Linked DNA regions of Homo sapiens: regions 1, 2, 3, 5, 6 and 7 are each linked to region 4. Evidence: promoter capture Hi-C in 16 types of primary human blood cells and fetal thymus (Javierre and others, 2016). All regions are on one chromosome and are shown on one strand. Each heading gives the region's core, a stretch centred on a gene start or on the middle of the fragment in contact. The rest is flanking DNA. Distances are from core to core; before and after follow the strand shown. Region 1 overlaps AGTPBP1 (ATP/GTP binding carboxypeptidase 1). Region 2 overlaps AGTPBP1 (ATP/GTP binding carboxypeptidase 1). Region 3 overlaps ISCA1 (iron-sulfur cluster assembly 1). Region 4 holds the start of NAA35 (N-alpha-acetyltransferase 35, NatC auxiliary subunit). Region 5 overlaps TUT7 (terminal uridylyl transferase 7). Region 6 overlaps TUT7 (terminal uridylyl transferase 7). Region 7 has its middle 8.8 kb from the start of TUT7.

What was found. The method cuts DNA at HindIII sites, captures the fragments that hold promoters and counts their contacts. A CHiCAGO score of 5 or more calls a contact.
Region 1: a fragment that was not itself captured here is called in contact with the fragment with the promoter of NAA35 in region 4 in 9 of 17 cell types (total B cells, naive CD8 T cells, activated CD4 T cells and 6 more); the score reaches 10.4 in total B cells.
Region 2: a contact is called between a fragment that was not itself captured here and the fragment with the promoter of NAA35 in region 4, in 1 of 17 cell types (neutrophils). The highest score is 5.6, in neutrophils.
Region 3: a contact is called between a fragment that was not itself captured here and the fragment with the promoter of NAA35 in region 4, in 11 of 17 cell types (total CD4 T cells, naive CD8 T cells, naive CD4 T cells and 8 more). The highest score is 8.7, in total CD4 T cells.
Region 5: a contact is called between a fragment that was not itself captured here and the fragment with the promoter of NAA35 in region 4, in 7 of 17 cell types (total CD8 T cells, naive CD8 T cells, naive CD4 T cells and 4 more). The highest score is 7.9, in total CD8 T cells.
Region 6: a fragment that was not itself captured here is called in contact with the fragment with the promoter of NAA35 in region 4 in 10 of 17 cell types (naive CD8 T cells, naive CD4 T cells, total CD4 T cells and 7 more); the score reaches 12.8 in naive CD8 T cells.
Region 7: a contact is called between a fragment that was not itself captured here and the fragment with the promoter of NAA35 in region 4, in 6 of 17 cell types (naive B cells, neutrophils, activated CD4 T cells and 3 more). The highest score is 7.4, in naive B cells.

What each region holds. Positions count from the first base shown.
Region 1 is chr9:85,608,224-85,611,930 of GRCh38, reverse strand. The region is part of intron 17 of AGTPBP1 (ATP/GTP binding carboxypeptidase 1); the gene reads left to right. Among named protein-coding and RNA genes, the nearest start is that of AGTPBP1, 130 kb to the left of the region's middle. The HindIII fragment of the contact is 355 bases long and covers 1,708-2,062 here.
Region 2 is chr9:85,555,793-85,559,394 of GRCh38, reverse strand. All of the region lies in intron 25 of AGTPBP1 (ATP/GTP binding carboxypeptidase 1), which reads left to right. Among named protein-coding and RNA genes, the nearest start is that of AGTPBP1, 180 kb to the left of the region's middle. The HindIII fragment of the contact is 1,685 bases long and covers 451-2,135 here.
Region 3 is chr9:86,264,227-86,267,651 of GRCh38, reverse strand. It overlaps ISCA1 (iron-sulfur cluster assembly 1), which reads left to right. Exons shown (of 4, transcript NM_030940.4): 4 at 1,461-3,106. The coding sequence ends at 1,609. Among named protein-coding and RNA genes, the nearest start is that of C9orf153, 6.3 kb to the right of the region's middle. The HindIII fragment of the contact is 527 bases long and covers 1,072-1,598 here.
Region 4 is chr9:85,939,244-85,942,446 of GRCh38, reverse strand. NAA35 (N-alpha-acetyltransferase 35, NatC auxiliary subunit) reads right to left here and starts at 1,301. Exons shown (of 23, transcript NM_024635.4): 1 at 1,174-1,301; 2 at 164-292. The coding sequence starts at 287. RefSeq lists a silencer at 718-1,397. The HindIII fragment of the contact is 5,629 bases long and covers 277-3,203 here.
Region 5 is chr9:86,320,952-86,324,671 of GRCh38, reverse strand. TUT7 (terminal uridylyl transferase 7) reads left to right here. Exons shown (of 27, transcript NM_024617.4): 13 at 712-1,799; 14 at 2,197-2,347. Among named protein-coding and RNA genes, the nearest start is that of TUT7, 32 kb to the left of the region's middle. The HindIII fragment of the contact is 3,186 bases long and covers 61-3,246 here.
Region 6 is chr9:86,302,412-86,305,763 of GRCh38, reverse strand. TUT7 (terminal uridylyl transferase 7) reads left to right here. Exons shown (of 27, transcript NM_024617.4): 23 at 525-572; 24 at 817-908; 25 at 2,563-2,678. Among named protein-coding and RNA genes, the nearest start is that of ISCA1, 22 kb to the right of the region's middle. The HindIII fragment of the contact is 3,720 bases long and covers 1-3,352 here.
Region 7 is chr9:86,361,347-86,365,024 of GRCh38, reverse strand. No RefSeq gene overlaps it. Among named protein-coding and RNA genes, the nearest start is that of TUT7, 8.8 kb to the right of the region's middle. The HindIII fragment of the contact is 3,744 bases long and covers 20-3,678 here.

The DNA of each region.
Region 1 (3,707 bases), core at 636-3,135, 330 kb after region 4:
AGGTGGGTAGATCACAAGGTCAGGAGTTCGAGACCAGCCTGACCAACATGGTGAAACCCCATCTCTACTAAAAATACAAAAAATTAACCAGGCTTGGTGGCACACACCTGTAATCCCAGCTGCTCAGGAGGCTGAGGCAGGGGAATAGCTTGAACTCGGGAGGTGGAGGTTGCAGTGAGCTGAGACTGTGCTATTGCACTCCAGCCTGGGTGACATAGTGAGACTCTGTCCCCCAAAAATATATTGTTTCATATTTAATATTATACATCTATTCAACTTTCTATATCCTTGTTTATTTTTTGTCTTCTCTATCTACCTAAGACTTAAAAATACTTAATAGTCTTTCAATTATGTTGTGTTTCTGTCAAGCCTTCATTTAAAAACTTTTTTTTTCTATTTTAATACAATGTTACTTGGCACACAGAATTTTGTAAGTTTTCCATTTTCCTTTTGCATATCTCTTTAATAGTATAAAATTATCACATTTATCTCATTCAGCATCTTTTGCCTTGAATTCTGTTTTTATATTGGTTTGAATTTGCTTGATGTATGTTTGCTTTTTTTTTCATAAATAAGAGGTTGGATTTTGTTGTTTGATCATTTGTCTTTTAATAGAGGAGTTTAACCTGTTTAAAATTCTTACAATTGATGTGTTTGGGTTTTTATGCTTTCTATTTTTGTACTTCTTTATTGTTTTCTTTATTTTTTATTTAGTGTGACACTTATTTTAGCTGTGGAATCCAAAATGTAAAATGCAAAAAAAAAAAAAAAAAAAGAAAAGCCCCTAAACCACAAGATACAGATCACGAGGCATATTCTGCATTGGATTTTTCAGTCTTGCTCCATCTGCCTTAAGTTTAATAGAGATTCCTTCCAGATTCTGATGATAAGTTGTCTATTGTGAGTTTTCTTCTTATTTCCATGTATTTGTAAGTATTTAACTAGGAAGTTAGTAGAAGCTATGGGAGCTGTTTAGGTAGATGTAATATTTTATTAAACTTATCTTTAGATTTGTTAGGTCAGTACAACATAAAGCAAATCTTGGTTTGTCTTAACATTAACAGAATTAAAAGAAAGGGACCAATATTTTGGTAAACTAGAATTTAACATTGTAAGCAATTATAACTAGCAATAATTCATTTTAAGGGTGGGGGCTGATGACCAAAGAAAGTATGTGCAGTGGAAACTTCTTCATCTGGAGGTATTTATTTAATTGTCAGACATGATTGAAATGAGGAAGTAGTATCAGTTAGGAGAGTAGCTTATTGTCTGTAATTTTTTTTTTGATTGGGGCGTGCCGGTTGGGGTACTATTTAAGTGTTGGATTCTAGAAAATGTGCCCAATAGAGGTCTTGTTCTTTGGCAGTGTCCCCAAAAAGGAACAGGCTGGCAGTTGCTTCTCTTTCAAGTTGTCCTTTTCTTTGAGCTTTTTAAAAGTGATTCTATTGAATACTTAGTGGTTTTCACAAGTGAATGATCTTAAAATTAAGCAGTTTAAAAATATTTATGTTTCACACTGTATTTTCAATTGTAAAGAGAATACTGCCTTTGAAATACTGAATTTGAGAATGTGTGTCACTAAATAGTGCTGTGTCTGTTTCAATCCATCACCCCCTCTTACCCCCCCATTACTTGGAAGGGATTTGCTGAAATTACCACCAGATGGCAGTCTTGCATTTTAGTGACTTGGAGCTTCAGTACCAAGCTTCTCTTTCACTTTCTCTCCATCTTTGTTTCTCTCAGATTTCTGAGGATTTTCAACTGCCTTCTTACATAAATTGAACATGTTTGGAACCAGGCAATAAAGTACAATTTTGGAGTCTAGTCTGTAGCATTCTCACCGCTTTGCCCACGTTAGTTAATTCAAGTCTCCTCTGCCTCCCTAGAATGGATTAGTCCCCCTGACAAATGTTCCTCATACATTTTTGCCTTTTGGGGTGCTCTTTACAGTTTAATATTATTTAGGTGTGTGGCTTTCCTACATTTCCTTCTTCTCTTTGTAATTAGTGTTATACATTGAGGTACTTTGAGACTATCTAAATATCTTGTTCCTTCTCAAGCTTTTAATGTATTATCAGTATAGACTGGGTTTCCTATTTGACTCAATGAGTTATAATTTGTTGCTATCATTATTTATTTTGATATTCAAATTGTCCAGGATTTGGCCAGTGGGATACCATTAATGCTGGTGTGTGTGCCCTTTTGAGATATCCCTGTCATTCCTTATGGGTGCCCTTGCTTTTTGGCACAAGGCCCATCTTGCTTTTCTCTACCCCTGAATGAAATCTGCCATTTCTTCAAAGAGTGCCATTTTACTTTAGTAGTGAATGATGTTTAAAAACCAAGATCTGGCCGGGCGCGGTGGCTCACGTCTGTAATCCCAGCACTTTGGGAGGCCAAGGCAGGCGGATCACCAGGTCAGGAGTTTGAGACTAGCCTGGTCAACATGGTGAAACCCCGTCTCTACTAAAAATACAAAAATGAGCCTGGCACCTGCATGTAATCCCAGCTACCTGGGAGGCTGAGGCAGGAGAATCGCTTGAACCTGGGAGGTGGAGGTTGCAGTGAGCCAAGATCATGCCATTGCACTCCAGCCTGGGCAACAAGAGCGAAACTCCATCTCAAAAAAAAAAAAAAAAAGATCTGTACACTTGGTATACACATTGCTATTGGGTTATTACTGTTTACAAACTATCTCAATGAACAATTAGGGAGTATATTTAATACATACATAATATTTACACAGTAATTCACATTTGTAGTGGTTTCCATATTTGTAGGTACATATTTATGTATGTGTGTATATAATCACACAAACACACATACACTCCATGAGATTATACTTATACCTTAACTTTCGAGCAAATAACACAGGCTTTATTCTTGTTTTCTTTCCATATTTACAACTTTCTTCTCCAACAGAGATAATTTTGGGCCCCACTGTCCGTAATATATTAACTTGTTTGATCAATTCCAGTTTATGTAATAATCTCCCTGTTGTCTATTTGGACAGATGCCTTCCTCCACCCTATTGAGGGTCTGATATCCCAAATTATTCTTCCTTCCATCCTCCTGCGTGGGTTCCCTCCCTGTTTGTTTTTTTCATTTTGTTTGTAATTTCTAGTTTTAGTACACTGTGACCAGAGTTTGTAATATTTCTGTTTTGTGAAATTTGGTGTTGTTTTCCCTGTGATGTAATATATTATCAGTTTTTGTGAATGTATTGTGCTATTGAGAAGATATATTACTTATATCATCTTATATTATATCTTAATATATTATCATCAAATTCCAAGCAAAGAAGATATCTTTGCTTAAAATTTGCTGATAATATATTGTCATATATATTATCAATTTTTATGAATGTATCATGTGCTGTTGAGAAGAAGATAATAAAGAATATATCTTCTTCACATAAGAAGATATATTTTTCATCTGTATCAGGATGAGACATTTGACATTTAGATGTAAAAATTGCCACATTGATTATGTCATTTGGTTCTCTATATTTTGTTTTCTTGTTCAATTGTTCTATCTTATTCTGAGAGTGGTGTTTTGAAGACTATATCAATAGTATGTCCCTGTCGATTTCTGCTTATATCTTCTGTAGTTTCTGCCTTATGTAGGAGGTTGATCTTATCAGATGCATTGATATTAAGTATTATTATATTTTCATTATGAATTGTGACTTTGTCATTATAAAATTC
Region 2 (3,602 bases), core at 44-2,543, 380 kb after region 4:
TGCTTTTGTTAGATCCTCTGTGTTTACCAGAAGTTATAGAACTTTCTTTTCAATAATGCTCACTGTCGACTATTCATTATGTTATATATTCCCAGGGCATTTATTGGTAATTGCCAAACAAAAGTCATTTTAATTTTACCCATTTGTGTTGTATAATAAAAATTCCATCTGATGCAACACTACATTTTTCCTGGGGTAGGTGTTTCTCTTTCAGGTCAAAGCTGGAAATACTGGTAGGACTCATAAAAGCAAATAGCTATGTAGTATTTTTGTGCTTAGCAAAAGTCATTTTTATTTTATCTATTATCTGAACTATTAAACAGTTTCAGTGACCTTCATTTAAATGATTTGAGAATGAGACTGATGAAACATTTAATAGTTATTTATTAGGATATTGTAGTGGTGACTAAATTTCAGGATATCAGGTCTGTGGATGAAGTATTTGAAGCTTGAGCATGTTTAAAATACTATAGGATGGCCAGGTGCAGTGGCTCACGCCTGTAATCCCAGCACTTTGGGAGGCCAAGGCAGGCAGATGTCTTGAGTCTAGGAGTTTGAGACCAGCCTGGGCAACGTGGTGAAACCCTGTCTCTACAAAAAATACAAAAATTAGCCTGGCCTGGTGACAGGTGCCTGTAGTCCCAGCTACTCGGGAGGCTGAGGTGAGAGGATTGCTTGAGCCCAGGAAGTGGAGGTTGCAGTGAGCCGAGATCATGTCGTTGTATTGTACTCCAGCCTGGGTAACAGAATGAGACCTTGGCTCAAAAAAAATTATAGGTAAGTGAAGTTGAAAGATAGCAATATCTACACAATGTTTTATCATAATTAAAAATATACCCATGTTTAAATGAAGCCTAATTACTGACATATAATCAAAAATACTATTTGGATCTAGTTTTTAATTGAGATGAAATTCACAGAGCATAAAATTAACCATTTTAAAGCAAACAATTCAGTGGCATTTAGTATGTTGACAATGGTGTGCAGCCATCAATCACCCTGTCTTGTTCCAAAACCTTTTTATCACCCCCAAAGGAGACCCTCATACCAATTAAGCAGTCACTCCTGGCCCCTGGCAACCACTGATCTCCTTTCTGTCTGTATGGATTCACCTATTCTGGATATTTCATAGAAATGGAATCATACAATATGTGACCTTCATGTGTCTGATTTCATTCACTTAGCATGCTTTTGAGGTTCATCCATATTGTAGCATGTGTCACTACTTAATTCCTTTTCATACCTACAGCATGGACATTAGAAAATTTGATGAGAAATTGTTCCTGATGCAACTAATAAATATAACTTAAGCCAAAGAAAGCCTTTAAAATACTTAGCATTAGTTATATTTTGTTTTAACATTTTTAAAAAACCTAATTTGGTATGTTTTGATATTTTTCGAATAAGGTATAGGGAACACTATGAGTCTGTGGACCAGTTACCATCATATTATTTTTCAGCTAAAGTCTGTAGTCCTGTCCCCAGCATTATGAGAGAGACTGAGTGGTAGATATTGGTAAAATAGTACAAAGATAATAGTTGCTATAGACCGTTAGCAAACACTAGAATGAAATGTTAACCTCTGTTATCTGTATTTTCCTTATGTGAAGCTAGTATTTGTTTGTTTATACATATATAGGAACTCTGTCTTCTGAGAAAATTAAATTAATATAGGTAATTCTTGGCTAAATGTTAACAGTAGTGTCTAATACTTAGCTATGTGGTAAAGTTTACTGGTATTAATGTGCCTTATTTTTAATGTATAATTTACCATTTAATTAAGCAAATTAAGAAAAAAGATTTTCCTTTCTAATAGCTGTGGTACACATAACTTGAGTCTGGTTTGCATTTCTGGGAATCATTTATTGCTACTACATAGAAAATTCTTAGCGCTGTAATTACTACTGAGATTTTTCTGGGCAGATAAGTCATGTAATTGGAGATCATATCATACCTTCTTGTACTTTGGAAATCGTAGTTGCTTATAACTAAAAGTGCTCCATTTGTATTTGTGCTGAGTAGATGAAATGCTGTTGTACCCACAAATAGAGAGATTGAAATCATCCAGATAAATAAGTTTGGGACTGATGTGAGCACCTCGGGATCCCAGACCAGATTTGATTATAATGAAAGCTTTGAGCCTTGTCATAAGTAAATGATCCTTATAATTGAGATGTAGATAGGTATCAAATTAGTGATTATTAGTCTGGAAGACTTAGCTATGTAAGGAATTTGATGATTGTATATGTTTATGGCTATTTATATTTTTGGTAGCCTCTTGGGAGAAAAAGTTATTTCTCTCACAATAAGTGTCTGAGACTTCAAAATAAGAATATATCAGCATAAGGAAGAATACATATTTAGTGTTATATTCATATTAGAGAAGAATGTATATTCTTTAATTGCTGGTTGTAGGATTCCATATATTCCTGATAAGATCAAGTTTTTAAATCTGTGGTTCAGATTTTTCACATTGTAATGGTTTTTGGATCTGTTTGTTCTATTAGGTATTAAGAGAGATGTTTTCAGGTTTCCCCTATCACTGCGAATGTGTCCACTTTTCCTTTTAAGTTCTGTCAATTTTTGCTTTATGTATTATTATAGTAGATGTGTAGAACTTTTGCTTCATTACGTCATTCTGGTGGATTGATCTCTTTATCATAAAATGTCTCTTCTTTGGTAATGCTTCTTGCTTTAAAGCCAGCTTTGTTTTACATTGGTGTAGTTGCCCTAGCTTTCGTTGGTTAGTTTTTGCATAATATCTTTTCCATCCTTCTAGTCCCAGTTTTCTCTTTATATTTAAGATAGGAATCTTGTATGTACCAGGTAATTGTATTTTATAATCCAGTTAGTCATCTTTGTCTTTTAATTGGAGTATTTACTCCATTTCCATTTAATGAATTACTAATACAACTGAGCTTGTAAGTTACTGTATTTGTTTTCTATTGGTTTCACTTGTTTTATGTTTTTTTCTCACCTTCTTTGAGATTAATTCAAAAAGTTTTATTGTTATTCCAATTTTGTCTCTCTATAAGCTTGTTCCATTCTCTTTTGCTGTTCTTTTACTGGTACTCTAGAGATGATAACATGGATATTTGGTTTATTAGAGTATAATAAAAATTACTCTTCTTGCCTCTTCACAGACAATGCTAGGATCTTCAGATGTGTTCTACTCACCTTTTCACCTTTTGTGTTATTGTCATATATTTTAATTGAACTCCATATATTTTATTATTTTTTATTAGTAGTATTTTTTAAACTTCTAGGTTCAGCGATACATATGCAGGTTTGTTACATAGGTAAACCCATGTCACGGGGGTTTGTTCTACAGATTATTTCCTCGCCTGGGTACTAAGACTAGTTCCCAATAGTTATTTTTTTCTGATCCTTTCTGTTCTCCCACCTTCCACACTAAAGTAAGCCCTAGGGTTTGTTGAACTGAACTCCATATATTTTAAATCTAATTACACATTATTAATGTTTTAGTTAGTCACATTCACTTATATTTACTTTTACATTGTTCTTCATTTCTTCCTCTATTTCTGTGTTTTGGTTTAAGATTAATTTTCTTTTAGTGCATGTCTGCTTACAACAAATTATTT
Region 3 (3,425 bases), core at 86-2,585, 330 kb before region 4:
CTCATGTTTTTGAGGAATCCTGTATTTCCAATTTTTATTCAAAGCTATTTATTATAATTTAATTTATAATTAAAATTAATTATATTTGCTGCTGCCCCCTTCTTCCACCCTATAATCTGTTAAAACCTATCTAAAATAAATAATTTATCTTGTCATTGGAAGTATGCACTTAGCTTGCAGTTCTTACCTACATGGGAGAATGAGGCCTAGATTCCTAAGTGTGCTTTCTTATTAAACTAAAGTTATAACTATCAATAAAGACCTTTTAAAAATGTATTATTTTAAAAATTATAACACATTATAAACCTTAAGATTTTCATCTTAAAGAAGAGGTGACTTAATTATATATTGTTTATATTTAGCTAATGGCTCAATTTCTTGTAAGGAAGAAAGTTTTTTTGTTGTTTCGTTGTTTTGTTTGTTTGTTGAGACAGAGTCTTGCTCTCTTACCCAGGCTGGAGTGCAGTGGCACAATCATGGTTCACTGTAGCCTCTGTCTCCCGGGCTCAAGCAGTCCTCCCACCTCAGCCTCCCGAGTAGCTGGGACTACAGGTGCCCACCACTGTGCCCGGCTAATTTTTGTATTTTTAGTGGAGCCAGGGTTTTGCCCTGTTTCCCAGACTAGAAAGCTTTCTTAAATTGATTGTATTTGTTGGCTGGGCACTGTGGCTCACACCTGTAATCCCAGCACTTTGGGAGGCCGAGGTGGGAGGATCACTTGAGCCCAGGAATGCAAGACCAGCTTGGGCCACGTGGTGAAACCCTGACTCTAAAAAAATTAGTTGGTCCTGGTGGTATGTGCCTGTAATCCTGTGGGAGGATCGCTTGAGCCTGGGAGGTGGAGCTTGTGGTGAGCCATGATCATACCACTGCACTCCAGCCGGGGTGACAGAGTGAGACTCTGTCCAAAAAAAAAAAGATTGTATTTACAAAGATGCTGACCTCTACCTGTGTAATTACTAGGGAATAGTACCTGTTTTCCGTCCTGTAACCAGAAAAGACTATTGTTGTACTGATTGATGTTATTAAAATAGCCCCATTGTATCACAGTCCTTTGTACATCTTTAAGCTTGAATCCGTGTATCTAGTGTATTGCAGAATTTTCATAAATTTTTTTTTATTTCATAAAACTCATCGAGAATATACATTTTCTTCATGTTGCAAACTGGAAAAATGAGTGAAGTATAGTGAAAGGTAAATTCTAATTTTGCATAAAATTGTCATGGAATTTACTTGTATAAAATTCTCCCCTAATGTGATTGTGACATAAATTCATGTGTGGGAAAGAAGGGGCAGACAGGAAACTGAATGCTTAATTCCTTAAGGAAATAATTTAAAATGTTCAAGGCTTCTTGTTTGACTTTCATTGATAGTCACTATTTCAAGTTCACTTGTGCTTTGAATCAGCAAGTTCCATAAGGCTGCAGGCTTTCCATGACACATGTTTTCTTTTCTCCAAGGAGTCAGAGTATTCATCGAAAAGAAAGCACAGCTAACACTTTTAGGAACAGAAATGGACTATGTTGAAGACAAATTATCCAGTGAGTTTGTGTTCAATAACCCAAACATCAAAGGGACTTGTGGCTGTGGAGAAAGCTTTAATATTTGAAATCTCAGGACTCTTCTGGCCGTAGGTTCCAGGAAAGCTCGTGGAAGCTTTGGGGCTCACTGCAGAAATCATGTGACTGTCACGTGCTGGAAAATAAAGTGATACATCTTGAAAATGAATCCAGTGTGTTGGATTCCAGAAGAAATGATATTTATATTCTCTATAGGGGACAGAAAATGAGAAGCCATCACTCTTTTTGGATCATTTAGGTCTCTTGTATCCTTTGTTTTAGAACCAGTTTCATTAAAGTTGCCTTCCTGGGCACCTGTTTATCCATTTCCTGAACTGTGTGCACTCCTTAGATCGCTATTGATGGCTTGATCATCCCTCAGCATTTCTCCCAACCAGATCGGTGACTCCTAAAATCTGAGACAGGACATCGTGACTGCTGGTAGTAATATGGTGGTGCATTGTTTTTTCCACCCAAACTTAACATAGCCTTTTTATACATTTTTATGAAAAATTTCATTGTCAGCTGCCTCACTGCATACTCTTTAATAGTACCAGGCAAAGATTTTCTTCAACTATAGTACAGATTAGTTCTGAGTGATGGTATCAAAAGGTGAGAAAGACGTCATCCGCCTTTTTTTAATCCATTTCTTTTGCCACCCTATATGTCTGTTCAGAGATGGGCTCTCAAGCTGACTTTGATTCTTTTAGTTGAGAAGTCTCTTAAAGCCATCTAGCCCACCTCCATCAATTCCCTATGTGAGGAAGCAAAACCCCAGGGAAGCCAAAGGGCTCCTGTCCACCCTGACACCACAGGCCGGGGGAGAGTAGGGACTCTACCCCCCTCTCCCCTTGTAGGTGACACATGCTCTGCCCTCTGAGGCAGTCAGCGAAGGCAAATGGTCTGACTTCTTTATGTGGTCAACATTTTGATAGAATTTCTTTATAATTTGATAGAGATTATATTATTTTTATTTTATTTTGAGTGGGAAGAATTTTAAAACCTTTTTATGTCAATTACCATCTTGTTTCTTTCACCTTTGAAACAATGGTTTGTAGCAGAGATGACATTGTAGCAACCCAGAATTATGCTTTTGGAATGTGGTCCTCACTGTACAGGAGAATGTGTAATCTTTTGTTAAAATTCCCAGTGTGCATACATTTTCTGGTTCCTCGGTCCAGTTGCTAAAGTTCTTAGTATTTTAGCCTAACATATTTATCACCAACTTTTCTTTAAAAGTGTTCCTTTTGTCACTTAGTTACTGATTTTCCTGGGTTTGACATAAGTATTCTATGAGATGATATATATGCTTTTTTTGAAAGCTGATTCTCATGAATTCAAGTAGCTGAGTTCCTTTATGTTTCGTTTATTCACTAAAGTAGCTGACACAAAACACACCAAAACCTAGAGCGGTAGTTTTATGTAAATGCTCATGAGTTTGTATCAATAATATAATTGTTGATCCACTTATAATTCGTGCAACACTGTATGTATGTAGAGATTGAGTTGTCAATTAAAAAAAATGTGGCCTCTTTGTGATCATAAAATTGCCTTTTATTATTGAGGGGAGAGGGTTTGGGACAGCAGCTGCTAAAGCCAATAAAAAAATGACTGTCTTTTTTGCCTAGGCTGCCTGTCACCAGGCGTCCTCCCTACCTGACACTGTTTCGTCCAGAGTCCTAGCTGCTGATTCTCCACACAGCCCTGGAGAGACCATCTCAGGTGTCTCTCATCTCCCTGGCTTTGCTAGCCTCTTTTTCCTCCTTGTTCCCCATGAGGGTCATCCATCCCCCAAGCAGGTTCCTCATGTCCTTAGGACGAGAGCATTATCACTACCTGGAGTGCTTTTCCCTCTGTCATCTGAGC
Region 4 (3,203 bases), core at 52-2,551:
TTTGCTTTAAAGTTAAAATTAGAGGATACAGAATAAGTGTGGCTAACAAACTCAACAAACCACATTTACCTGTTGATTTCATCTAATGAGGTAAGTTTAGAAAGCACAATCGTCATTCTACCCCTTCCAGATGCTGAACTTCTAATCCAAAAATCAGACTCACCTCGACAAGCTTCTTCAAAATCTTGGGTAATGTCCACCCAGTTTGTATTGCTTTTCTCCATTTTTTCTGGCATACTGAGCTCCCATCCTGAATCGTCATCATCTACAGAAGCTTTCATAACCATTATGCCTGTAAAATTAATACTGATGTAAGAGAGAGGATGTAGCTTTCAGGGCAAGAGTATTTGCAGAAATGGGTGTTTGTTTCAGCATAGGATGAAGTCTTAACTAAACTCTTTAAAGCAGAACTCTTCTGAGTCTAAGGACAGTACTGCAAAGAATAACCTTAATGCAATCAAATCGCACGTCAATTAACACTCCTGCTGCTTACTATTAGCCCACCACCTACCAGGGCCCATAAACATTTTGCCTTCCTACTGTTTAAGAAGAAAAATCACAAACCATCTCACCTCTGGCCCGAAAAGAACAACTCCAGAGCTTCCAACTTTCAATAATAGCCACAAAAGACCAAGGCACTATTCAGGGTCCCCTCTCGCAGCCCAGGACCCCATGCGGCAGCTACCGAAGTCAATCAAGGTAGCCCTTCATCTGGCCAGAGCTCGCTGGGACCTCTCCCGGGCCAGAGCCGGCCCGGACCCAGGCAGAACCTCGCCGGGAGCAATGAGGAGCCGGCAGGCACCGCAGGGTCCCGCCGGCCGGGCCTAGGGCCGAGGCACACCTGAGGCGGGCACACGCTTCCCTTCCGCCCTGCCCGGGTCAGCCCAGCCCAGCCCCGGTCCCACTGGGCGCATAAGCAAGGACAGAGCTGTCGCCGCGCGGGAGGGCGGGCACGTCCGGCGCCGGGTCGTCGCCTCGGCAACACCGGGCAAGAGTGGGGCCTCGGCCGACAGCGGGCACTGGGGAGCCCGCCGCTCCTACCTGACGCGCAGCGGGAGGGCCGGGGCCGCAGGGTGACCTGGGGTCCCCAGGATCTGCCACACGCGCGGGGGGCTGCGGCTCTCGGACACACGAGCGAGAGGGTTTCAATGGCTACGCAGGGGCGGTCCCTACCTACTTCTCCCGTGGTCACCCGCGCCGCCACGCACTGTCCGGACCACGGAAATAACGACGCCGCCTCGGCCGCCGCCGCCCCCTCCCCTCTCAGCCCAGCCCGACCGGCAGCGTGCACGCATGCGTATGCCCGGGACGCGCGACCCCGCCCCCTCTCCCTTACTCCCGGGGACTTCGCGCTCCCCGGCCACACCCCCTCCCTCGCCACCGCCTCCGTTCGGCCGATGGCGGCCGCCTTCTCTTCTCGCGAGATTAGAGACGATCGCGAGACCGGAAGTTATCTTTTTTCACCCTCTGTCGGAGTCCTGGGTAGTGGGCGGTTCCCGGAAAGAGGCGGAGCCCGGAGTCTCAGAGCCCGCCCCGTCTGCGCTGCCCTCTGGGAATTTCTTAGAAAGGTGACGCGAAGGCGGAAGGAAACCGTGGAGGTTTGCGTAGACCTTAGTGGTTGCGAGCACGAACGAGCAGCCAAGCTCCGAGAGCAACAGCGTGCTACTGCTGCCTGACAACGGATTTATGTTTCCTATACAGCGCCTGGGAGTTTCGTGAGGAAACATAGATTCAAAATATCTGCAAAGTCAAGCCAGACATTTAATTTCAGATTCTTATATGTTTTAGATTTTTTTAATTTATTAATAAAATGATCAGTTTTTAAATGGGGTTACATAAATAGACGGGCGCAGGTAAGAAGCACATCTTTATCACCACCTGTTCTTTAGGATGGCCCAAAATTAAAAGATGGAAAAGATAATACCAAATGTTGGCAAGGATGCAGAGCAACTGGACCTCTGTTATGTTGGTGGTGGTAATGCAAAATGGTACAACCACTTTGGAAAACTTAACAATCTCTCCTTATAATCATATACTTATCATTCGATCCAGTAATCTACGAATTTACTTAGGAACAAAAACATATTCATACAAAGGCTTGTACGTTAATGTTCATACCAGCTTTGTTTTGCTTTGTTTTTGTTTTTGTTTGAGACAGAGTGTCACTCTTGTCGCCCCTGCTAGAGTGCAGTGACCTGATCTCGGCTCATTGCAACCTCTGCCTTTCAGGTTCAAGCAATTCTCGTGCCTCAGTCTCCCGAGTAGCTGGGATTACAGGCGCCTGCCCCCACACCAGGCTGTTTTTTGTATTTTTAGTAGAGATGGGGTTTCACCATGTTGGTCAGGCTGATCTCAAACTCCTGACCTCGTGATCTGCCCACCTCAGCCTCCCAGAGTGCTGGGATTACAGGTATGAGCCACCGTGCCTGGCCCAGCTTTGTTTTTAATCATCAAAAACTACAGACAACCCAAATGTCCATCAACTGTTGAATAAAAACAATTTGTGGCATATCCATACAATGTAATGAATGTAATTATCAATAAACAGGGATAAACTACTTGACATACAACATGAATGAATTTCAAAAATATATTGAGTAAAAGAAATCAGGCTGAGCTTGGTAGCTGGTAGCTCATGCGTGTAATCCCAACACTTTGGGAGGCTGGCAGTGGAGAGGTCGGGTTGGAGACTAGCCTGACCAATATGGTGAAATCCTGTCTCTACTAAAAATACAAAAAAATTAGCCAGGCATGGTGGCGTGCGCCTGTAATCCCAGCCACTTGGGAGGCTGAGACAGGGGAATCCCTTGAACTCAGGAGGCAGAGGTTGCTGTGACCCGAGATGGTGCCATTGCACTCCAACCTGGGCGACAGAGTAAGAAATCAAATGCAAGAGTATGATTCCCCAAGTGAGACCCCAGGCTCTTAAAAGACATCTATAGTGACAGAAGACAGATTAGTGGCTGCTCAGGGCTCAAGAAGAGACTAAGTTGGATAGAGCTTGATTTGAAGTGATGTAAATATTCTGTTTTCGATTAAGGTAGTGCCTGTGTGGGTGAATACATTTGTAAAATTTCACTGAAGTATATACTTACAATGTGTACATTTTATTGTTTGTAAACCGAACTTCACAAAAATTGGTTTAAAAAATTTTTAAATGGCCGGGCGTGGTGGCTCACGCCTGTAATCCCAGTCCTCTGGGA
Region 5 (3,720 bases), core at 404-2,903, 380 kb before region 4:
TAATTTAAAGAACCTCCTAAATGGAATTCTCTTATTTTTGCTTGATTTTTTTTTCAAGCTTTATGTTGCATAAGAGGGTTTTTTGCATTTTGCATAAATTCTGTGTGCAGTCATGGGGATCTCACATTTTTAAACCCTCCCCTGCAGTTTCTGTGGCTCAGCTCTTCTGGCCAATTGCCTAACCTGCTGGAGTTCTAGGGGAGGAGAAAAGATTGAGAGAAGTGGTGTCTCCTCCTGGTGCCTCCCTCTCGCCCCTGAAATTCAGTCCAGCCAATTCAGTGATGGGGCTTCCCAGGGCAGAAGAGTGGAGGTAAGCTCGATAAACCACAGGGCCTGGCTGAGTGGGGAGGCAGAGCACTCAGCAGCAGCAGAGCCTGGTGGGAAGATCTTCCTTCCCAAGGGCCTGAGAGCCACGCTGATAACATCTTTTCTACCTCCACAGTCACAGAGCACAATAGGGAGAAGGGGTACTGGTTCTGAACAGAATGGGTTCCCTTCATAGAGCCGATGTTTCAGAAAATACTGCTTTTTGTTCTTAAACTCTGTTTTCTTACTCCCCACCCCCAGTTTTTTTTTAAGTCTATAAAATGCAAGATAAATTTTACCATTGTTTGTTGTCTGTTTTTATCTGCAGCAGGCTAATTTTTAAAACATGAAATATAGTAACATATGAAGAGATGGATTTTTCTTTCTTTCTTTTTTTTATTACAGATCCCTACTCTGTTAAAAGAAATGTGGCAAGAACCCTAAATAGTCAACCTGTGTTTGAATATATACTTCATTGTTTAAGGACAACATACAAGTATTTTGCTCTTCCACACAAAATTACAAAATCCAGCCTTCTAAAGCCTCTGAATGCAATTACATGTATTTCAGAACATTCTAAAGAAGTAATAAATCATCATCCAGATGTACAAACAAAAGATGATAAGCTCAAAAACTCAGTTTTGGCCCAAGGTCCTGGTGCTACCAGTTCAGCTGCAAATACCTGTAAGGTACAGCCACTTACTCTTAAAGAGACTGCTGAAAGTTTTGGAAGCCCACCAAAAGAAGAAATGGGAAATGAACACATCAGTGTCCACCCTGAAAACTCAGACTGTATCCAAGCAGATGTTAACTCTGATGATTACAAGGGTGATAAAGTATACCATCCAGAAACAGGAAGGAAAAACGAGAAAGAGAAAGTTGGAAGGAAGGGCAAGCATCTGTTGACTGTTGATCAGAAACGTGGAGAGCATGTTGTCTGTGGCAGCACACGTAATAATGAGTCAGAGAGCACTTTGGATTTAGAAGGCTTCCAAAATCCCACAGCTAAAGAGTGTGAGGGACTTGCCACTTTAGATAACAAGGCTGATCTTGATGGAGAAAGTACAGAAGGTACTGAGGAACTAGAAGACTCTCTAAACCACTTTACCCACTCAGTACAGGGCCAGACATCAGAAATGATTCCCTCTGATGAAGAGGAGGAGGACGACGAAGAAGAGGAGGAGGAAGAAGAACCTAGGCTCACCATTAACCAAAGGGAAGATGAAGATGGCATGGCTAATGAAGATGAGTTAGACAACACCTACACTGGGTCAGGGGATGAGGACGCCCTATCTGAAGAGGATGATGAGTTAGGCGAAGCTGCTAAGTATGAAGACGTGAAAGAATGTGGAAAACATGTAGAAAGAGCTCTCCTAGTGGAACTTAATAAAATAAGTCTCAAGGAAGAAAATGTATGTGAAGAAAAAAATTCACCTGTGGATCAGTCTGATTTTTTTTATGAATTCAGTAAACTTATCTTCACCAAAGGCAAGGTAATCAGTACCACCACTAGTCATAGAACTAGGAGACTTTAAGGACTTTGAATGCATTTAATTTCAATTTTTATATACTAGGAATTTTCCTATTTTGGTAGTGTTGAACAAGTTGGCCTTTCATTCTGATATGACTGCTCGGTCTGCTTTTCTCCTTAAGACTCATGGGAATTAGCAGAGGAAGGGAATGCTATTAGTAGTGAAAATAGCCACTATGTTCTCCTAATGATACTATAGGATGTCCCCATCTCTCAGATCATTTGAGTGGATGCATGTTATATTTTCATTTCCTTTGGAAAGTGAATAGGTGACTGTGTACTTTTAAAACATGATTCCAGACTCCTTTATTTGGCAAATAAAGTGTTAAGTCTTGTTTTGCTTTGCCATATTCCTGCAGTCTCCTACGGTAGTGTGCAGCTTATGCAAACGAGAGGGTCATCTAAAGAAGGACTGTCCTGAAGACTTCAAAAGAATCCAGCTAGAACCTCTGCCACCATTAACACCCAAGTTTTTAAATATCTTAGATCAAGTCTGTATCCAGTGTTATAGTAAGTTATTCACATTTCTTTTGATTTGTCAAAATATTAAATTGACATTTACTCGAGTCTTTAGAATCACTATCCTATTTAGGTCTCTAAACATTATTAGGGACCAAGTCTATTCCATTCTCCATTGTATCCTCAAGCGTTCCATGTCATGTCTGTTCTGTTTGGGACATGCAATAAATGTCAAAGAAGGATGAGGAGAGATGCAGGGAGGATCTTTTTTATTTAAAAAAAAATTTTTTTTTAAATTTTGAGACAGGATCTCATTCTGTCACCCAGACTGGAGTGTAGCAGAGCAATCATGAGTCACTGCAGCCTCGACCTCCCAGACTAAAGCAATCCTCTCACCTCAGCCTCCCAAGTAGCTGGGAGCACAGATGCATGCCACTATGCCTGACTAAATTTTTCATTATTTGTAGAGACACAGTTTCCCTGTGTTACCCAAGCTAGTCTTGAACTCCTGGGCTCAGGCAAATGGAGGATCTTTTATTTTTCTTTTAATATCAAGTGCCTTCTGTACTTCCTTTTATTAACAGCATAGTTGTTGCATCAAGATACATAGCAATCATAGCAGGTTTCCTTTTTTGGAGGGTGATGGTGAGACAGGGTCTTGCTCGGTCCCCCAGGCTGGAATGCAGTGGCGCAATATCAGCTCTCCACAGCCTCTAACTCCTGGACTCAAGCAATTCTTCTGCCTCAACCACCCAAGTAGCTGGTATTACAGGCATGCATCACCACACCCAGCTCATTCTTATATTTTTTGTAGATACAGGGTTTCACCACGTTGGCCAGGCTGGTCTCAAACTCCTGACCTCAAGTGATTCATCCAACTGAGTCTCCGAAAGAGCTGGGATTACAGGCTTGAGCCATGGCGCCTGGCCAGCAGGTTTCTTTTTAAAGCTTAGTATTAAATATCTTTCCCCATTTAAATTTTCCATTACTCTGCCAAGAAAAAAAATTTTTTTTTTTTTGAGACAAAGTCTAGCTCTGTCACCCAGGCTGGAGTGCAGTGGTGCGATCTCAGCTCACTGCAACCTCCACCTCCTGGGTTCAAGCAATTCTCCTGCCTCAGCCTCCTGAGTAGCTGGAATTACAGTCATGCACCACCATGTCCAGCTAATTTTTTTTTTTTTTTTTAGTAGAGATGGGGTTTCACCATATTGGCCAGGCAAGTCTCAAACTCCTGACCTCCAGTGATCCGCTCGCCTTGACCTCCCAAAGTGCTGGGATTACAGGCGTGAGCCACCGCTCCCGGCCAAAAATTAAAATTCAAGTTACTTGAAGCCTGGACACACTTCCCTGGCTAGCTGGGCTATGTAAAGGTTGGTGGTGTTATTCTTCCTGCTGTGTAAGCAGATCCAGGCCCCAGAAAGAAG
Region 6 (3,352 bases), core at 544-3,043, 360 kb before region 4:
TGTGTGTTTTATAAGTGTGTTTTGTAATCTCCATCATGAATTATTTTCTGAAGTGATCTTTAAGAAATTTGTTACATAGTGGGAACATTTAGTGCCAAAATGTTTTAAATGTATTTATAACTTCTATATACATCCAAAACTAGTGTCATTAAGTAATATCAGGCTAATGTGTCTTCTGCAAACAGTATTTTGTTCAAAAATAGGCAGCCAGTCATAACATAAAGAGCTTTATAATGATTTAAATATAAAGTAGTACACTCTATTCTGATGAACAGTGTAGTGGAAAAACTTGCCTTCTGTTTAGGAATATGTATTGCTTAGCTTTATTATAACTTCTAAGCTCATTTAACAGGTGTCATTTTAAACTTTTTTTTGCACTTCTTTTCTATCATGTGAATTTAAAACTTATTAATGATAAGCAAAGTAGATGATATTCTTGTCTTGTTTTATGAACTTTACTTATTGGATGAATGGTGGCATTTTCTATTTGATTACCTTATTTGCTCTTAAATTTTTTTGCTTAGATCCCTTTGATTTGAATCATAATCTTGGAGCTGGATTATCAAGGAAAAGTGAGTTACTTCGTTTGTCAATTTTATTTTTTATTTTACTTATGTATTTACTTTTATAATAGAGACAGGGTCTTGCTTTTATTGCCCAGGCTGGTCTCAAACTCCTGGGCTCAAGTGATCCACCTACCCCAGCCTCCCAGAGTGCTAGAATAACAGGCGCCACCAGGCCCAGGTAGTTTGTCATTTGTAATACAATCTCTTTTCCTTTTAACCCGCCTAAGTGAGTTCTTACTCTTCTTTTTAGTGACAAATTTTATAATGAAGGCTTTTATCAATGGTAGAAGAGTATTTGGTATTCCTGTCAAGGGATTTCCAAAGGACTACCCCTCAAAAATGGTAAGTGTGTTGGAAATACCAAAAAATAAAAAATAAAAAAAAGTGCCTAATTTGTACACATCACTTCAGTAGTAACTTAAATATTTAGAAAGTCTGTGAGTCTAGCCAAAGTAAATGACTATTGTACAGAATGATTCCCAGAGCCCCCCTTTTTCTTAAACATCCCCGGGTAGAGGCCATCAGAATAGAGAGAAATAGTAAGAAGTTGGATTTAAGGTTGTTAAATTCTTGTTTTCCTCTTTGATGCCTTTTTTTTTTCTGGTTATCTGTGCTAGCCTTCATAGGTGCATTGCTGTTCTGCCAGCATTCGGCTTGATGCCAGCCTTGGCCAAGCCCAGTTTGTACATATCTAGAATCTAGATTTTCCAATCTGCTTGCAAAAAGTAGTAAATCTTTTGCTGGGACTAGGGGGTTAACAGTGCTTCCTGTAGCAGACAGCTATCTCTTCTCATGTAACTTGATACTCGAGTTTTTCAGGAACCACATTTATTGAAAACAAAGCAAAATTATGTCAAAAAAATAATTTCAGTGAGAGAAAAATGGCTAGGGACTAGATGATCTTGCTAAGAATAATATTATGTTCTTCTGCATTAATTTCCTTATACTTTTTATTCTTATTTTTAATTGACATACAGTTTATGGAGCACAACGTGATGATTTGATACATGTATATGGAATGATGAAATCAAGTTAATTAACATATATATATCACCTCACCATTTTTTGTGGGGAGACATTTGAGATTTACTCTTAGTTATCTTGAAATATACACTATTATTGACTATAGTCACCCTGCTGCGCAATAGATCTCAAAACTTATTCCTCCTGTCTATCTGAAACTTTGTACCCTTTGACCAGCAACCCCCTATTCCCTCTGTACTCCCAGTGAAGACTTTTAAAATTTAACGTAAGTGTATTGCTTTATAGGCACATTCAGTGTTTGATTACATCTGTACATCTGATTTATGGTAGATATTGATGTGGCTTCTACACCAGTGCTTCTGAAACTTGTTCGAACAAATCACCTGAGGATTTTGTTAAAGTGCAGATTCTGATTCAGCAGGTCTAGGATCAGGCTCAAGACTGCTTTTCCAGCAAGCTCCCTGGGGATGCTCATGTTGCTGGCCTCCACCTTAATTTTAGTACAAAGAGGCTACAGGCTAGACCATTATCTTTCCTTTGTTCTGTTATTTTTCCTTCAGCAGCCACAACTAAGCAAAGTAGAAACACATAGTTTTTTTTCTTTTCTTCAATATAATCTGTATGATGCAAATCATGTTTCTCAATTCATTATGTTTTAGCCTTTTCATTTGATGAGGAGACAAAGCCTGTGTACCTGGCCTCAACTCCCTCCCACATCCTGAAAAGCTGACTCATCCGCTTCTTTAGAAGTGTGCTTAAACCTTTAGGGTTAGGGCTCACGAGTGCTCTGCATGACTAAAAGGAATAAACAAAAATGGATTTAGTTAAAACTATCCTGAGTTAGACCTTGATGGTCTTAGATTTTGTTTGGAATTAAGCAGTATAAATAATATTTATTAAAAGTAATGTTATATCAACATTGAATTGTAAGATAACTGTTTAATATCTGGTTAGTTTTGTGTTCCGATCTCACGTGAATAGTTCAGGCTTTTATATATTTATGTTCTTCTAGGAATACTTTTTTGATCCAGATGTGTTAACTGAAGGAGAGCTGGCCCCAAATGATAGATGTTGTCGAATTTGTGGAAAAATCGGACACTTCATGAAGGACTGTCCTATGAGGAGAAAGTAAGTAAATGTTCAAAGGGGTTGGTTGTGTTTTTATTTTCTTAATGTCCCAATTTTTAAATGAGGTACTATTATAACAAAGAAAATACACTTGTGTAAAATCCAGCAGTTTTCAGATACATTTAAGTTTTTTATTTTATTTTTTAATGAAATGAAGTGATTTAAAACATGACTTTAGGCCGGGTGCAGTGGTTCACGCCTGTAATCCCAGCACTTTGGGAGGCCAAGGCGAGTGGATCACCTGAGGTCAGGAGTTCAAGACCAGCCTGACCCACATGGTGAAACCTCATCTCTACTAAAAATTAGCCAAGCATGGTGGCGGGCACCTGTAGTCCCAGCTACTTGGGAGGCTGAGGCTGCAGAATCGCTTGAACCCGGGAGGCAGAGATTGCAGTGAGCCCAAATCACGCCATTGCACTCCAGCCTGGGCAAAAGAGCAAGATTCTGTCTCAGAAAAAAAAAAAAAAAGCCCAGGTGTAGTAGCTCATGCCTGTAATCCCAGCACTTTGGGAGGCCAAGGCAGGCGGATCACTTGAGGCCAGGAGTTCAAGACCAGCCTTGCCAACATGGTGAAAAGAGGAAACAAAAATTCTTCCTTTTTACAGTAGTGAGAAGTTCAGAATCATTTCAGTCAGTAAACAGTCAAATGAGTTCCTTCAGGATCTCAGTTACAT
Region 7 (3,678 bases), core at 642-3,141, 420 kb before region 4:
AACTGTTATATCAAAAGCTTGCCCAGGAGAAGCCTAACCATCTCCCGTGGACTTCTGAGGAAGCTGATCAAGTTGAGAAGCTGAAGAAAAGGCTCATAACTGCCCCTGTTTTAGCCTTACCCTCCCTAGAAAAGCCATTCCACCTTTTTGTTAATGTGGACAGTGGGGTAGCTTTAGGAGTGCTGACTCAAGAACAGGGAGGCCACCGGCAGCCCGTAGCCTTCCTATCAAAGGTCTTAGACCCAGTCACTTGTGGATGGCCTCAATGCATTCAGTCCATCGCAACTATGGCAATACTAGTGGAGGAAAGCATTTTGGAGGAAAATTGACAGTAAGCAAGCCTCACCAAGTTAGAACTATCTTAAACCAAAGAGCAGGGAGATGGCTTACTGACTCGAGAATCTTTAAGTATGAGGCCATTCTGTTAGAAAAGGATAATTTAACATTGACCACTGAAAATTCACTCAACCCAGCAAGTTTCCTGACAAAGAATCCAAATCTAAGGAATGAACATACATGTTTAGATTTAATTGATTACCATACAAAGGTTCGACCAGACCCAGGAGAAACCCCCTTCCGGACTGGACGGCACTCGTTCATAGATGGTTCCTCCCTGGTGATTGAGGGAAAAAGACACAATGGTGTTCAGTGATTGATGGAGAAACTCTCTTAGAAATAGAGTTAAGAAAATTGCCCAACAGTTGGTCTGCTCAAACGTGTGAGCTGTTTGCACTCAGCCAAGCCTTAAAGTACTTACAGAACAAGGAAGGAACCATCTATACCAATTCTAAGTTAATTTGGACTAAACAAGGTCTTATTAACAGCAAAGGATAATTGAAATCCCAAACTCACAAGGTTTTCAACAAAAGCAAAACTTGCTAAAAGTTAACAGTGTAACATGTATTATCCTAACTTCTAATCTTGTGGCCTTAGGCAATCTAATCCACAGACCCGAAGGAAGTTCGCTTTGGAAAAGAATGGTTATCATCTTTGGGGAAAAAAAAAGGATGGGGGAGGAGAATTTATGTAAAAAGAATGTTATATGGTAAATTCTTGTCCTAAAATAAATTGTTTGTTTAAAGAAAGGGACATTTGCAACAAGTCAGAAAGTTGAGGCATGTCAAAGAATTGTCTGGCATTTCATCAACCAGAGGAAGGAAAAATAAGATATTGTAAAGCGTGAAAAAAAATGTGTTATAAAAGGGAATTTATGCAAGAAATGTTGTATAATGTAACAGTAATTAGGCGTCCTGAATGTAAAACTATTGACGAAACAGTTTATGTGCAAGGTGTATAAGGAAAGTAAAATATACTTTTAGTAAAAGAATTATAAAGAGGCATAAGAATGTGGATTTTTACCTACATTAAAAGGTGAAAAAAAAACTTTGTTTTGAAGGTTTAAGCAAGTTTGAAAACATTAATTATAAAGGAAATTCTGTGTGTAAACACACTGGCTAAAGTTAAAAAGGTATCATCCAGTTTTTCTGTGAACTGGACATTAAAATAAAAGCACAATGGATTTTTCTTAAAGCACTAACCTGCTCTTTAACAAAAATTATAAAAGGTTAAAAAGAGTCTATGAAAATCTTATCTTATGGTTAGATGTTAAAATTGGATAAATATGTCTACACGGTTTTATTAAAATTGATTTTAACATTAATAGCACACTAATATAAAGGTGAAATTTAGCTTATCTGGTATAAAAGTCATACAGGAAGCATTGTCAAATATAAAATGGTGTTTGGCTTTCTTTGGTCTAAAAACTAATAAAAATAGGTGCTAAAGGAAATTTCTTAATAAGAAGGCACCAAGGACTATAATGTCCAATGCTGATGTCCCTGCATTTAAAACAAAAGATCAATTTCTTAGACCTTATATACTTGGTTTATCTTCCTCTTTCCTTTCCCCCAAAACTAAAAGTCTTTTAGCACAGGTACCACCCCTAGAATTTCCAGTAAACCAGCACCAGCCTGAGGATCACATTCTCATCAAAGGGTGGAAAGAAAGAAAACTCGAGCCAGCCTGGGAAGGACCCTACCTTGGGCTGCTAACCACCGGGACTGCTGTTCATACAACGAAAAGAGGATGGACTCATCACACGTGAGTCAAGAAAGGGCCACCCCCCCCGCACCCCCGCCCCCCCACCCAGAGTCGTGGGCCATGGTCCCAGGGGAAAACCCTACCAAACTAAAGCTAAGAAAAATTTAACTTTCTTTCATCTATTCAATTACTCTTGCTTCTTTCTTCGCTCTATTGCTGACCGTCTAGTTATAACATAACAAAGTCAATTTCGCCTCAAACTATTGCATTTGATGCTTGCTTTGTTATACCCTGTGGGGACTTGCCAAGTCAAAGACAGCTCTCTACTTCAAAAAAGTACCTCTGTCCTTCCTGACTCTCCTCAGACTGGGCCTCAGACTGGGCATTTAATCCGGGGAGATGTCGATAAAACTCCAGTGTCAACCAGGAGTCTTGCCCCCGATGTAGAGCTTTTATGCCGTAGTTGGTCCTACGTTCTGTGGACCACTGAAGAGCAAGGATGGACTGCCCCAACCGGTTTTTGTAATTTCCTTAAACCATACATTCATTTTACTAGAGGATCATAAAAGTTAAAGACTTAAAATAAACTTTGGCAATTAAGATACCAAAGATACCAAGGATACCAAGATGCAAATGCCTGGTGGAATAGATCAAATATTCCGTCCGCACATTAAACAAAAGCAATTGTTATGCTTGTACGCACAGCAGGCCAGAGTCCCAGACTGTCCCCTTTCCACTAGGGTGACCCTCCACTTGACCAGGCATAGGCTGCATGGCAGCTCTTTTCCAGGATTCTACAGCCTAGAGTAATAAGTTGTGCCAAGCTCCCTCTCTGCTATATCCCGAAGTCTGGCACCCTGTGGGTCAGCCCCCGAGGGCTATCCAGCTTCCGTCTCCCAACACTAAGTTCACTTCATGTCTCTCACAACAGGGAGGAAACAGCGTTCCTTGGAGACCTGAAGGGATGCAGTGAGCTTAAGAATTTTCAAGAGCTTATCAATCAGTCAGCCCTTGTTCATCCCCAAGTGGATATGTGGTGGTATTGTGGTGGACCTTTACTGGACACTCTGACAAATAACTGAAGTGGCATTTGTGCTTTAGTTCAATTGGCTATCCCTTTCACCCTGGCATTTCATCAACCAGAGGAAGGAAAAATAAGACATCATAAAGCGAGAGAAGCCCCTTATGGGTCTTTTGACTCTCACATCTATTTAGACACAATTAGAGTCCCATGGGGAATACCAGATCAATTTAAAGCCTAAAATCAAATAGCTGTAGGATTTGCATCAATATTTTGGTAGGTGACAATTAATAAAAATGTAGATTGGATAAACTACATCTACTACAACCAATAGCGATTTATTAACTACACTAGAATTAGGAGTTTGCATCATGATTAAAACTCAATGTTGCACCTTCATCCCAAACAACACTGCCCCTAATGGAAGTATAACAAAAGCATCGCAAGGTCTGACTGCTCTATCCAACAAGTTAGCCCGCAACTCAGGGGTAAATGACCCTTTTACAGGATGGCTAGAAAAGTGGTTCGGTAAATGGAAAGCAATAGTAGCCACAATTCCTACTTCCCTCACAGTCATAATAGGTGTACTTATTCTTGCTGGCTGCTGTGTCATACCA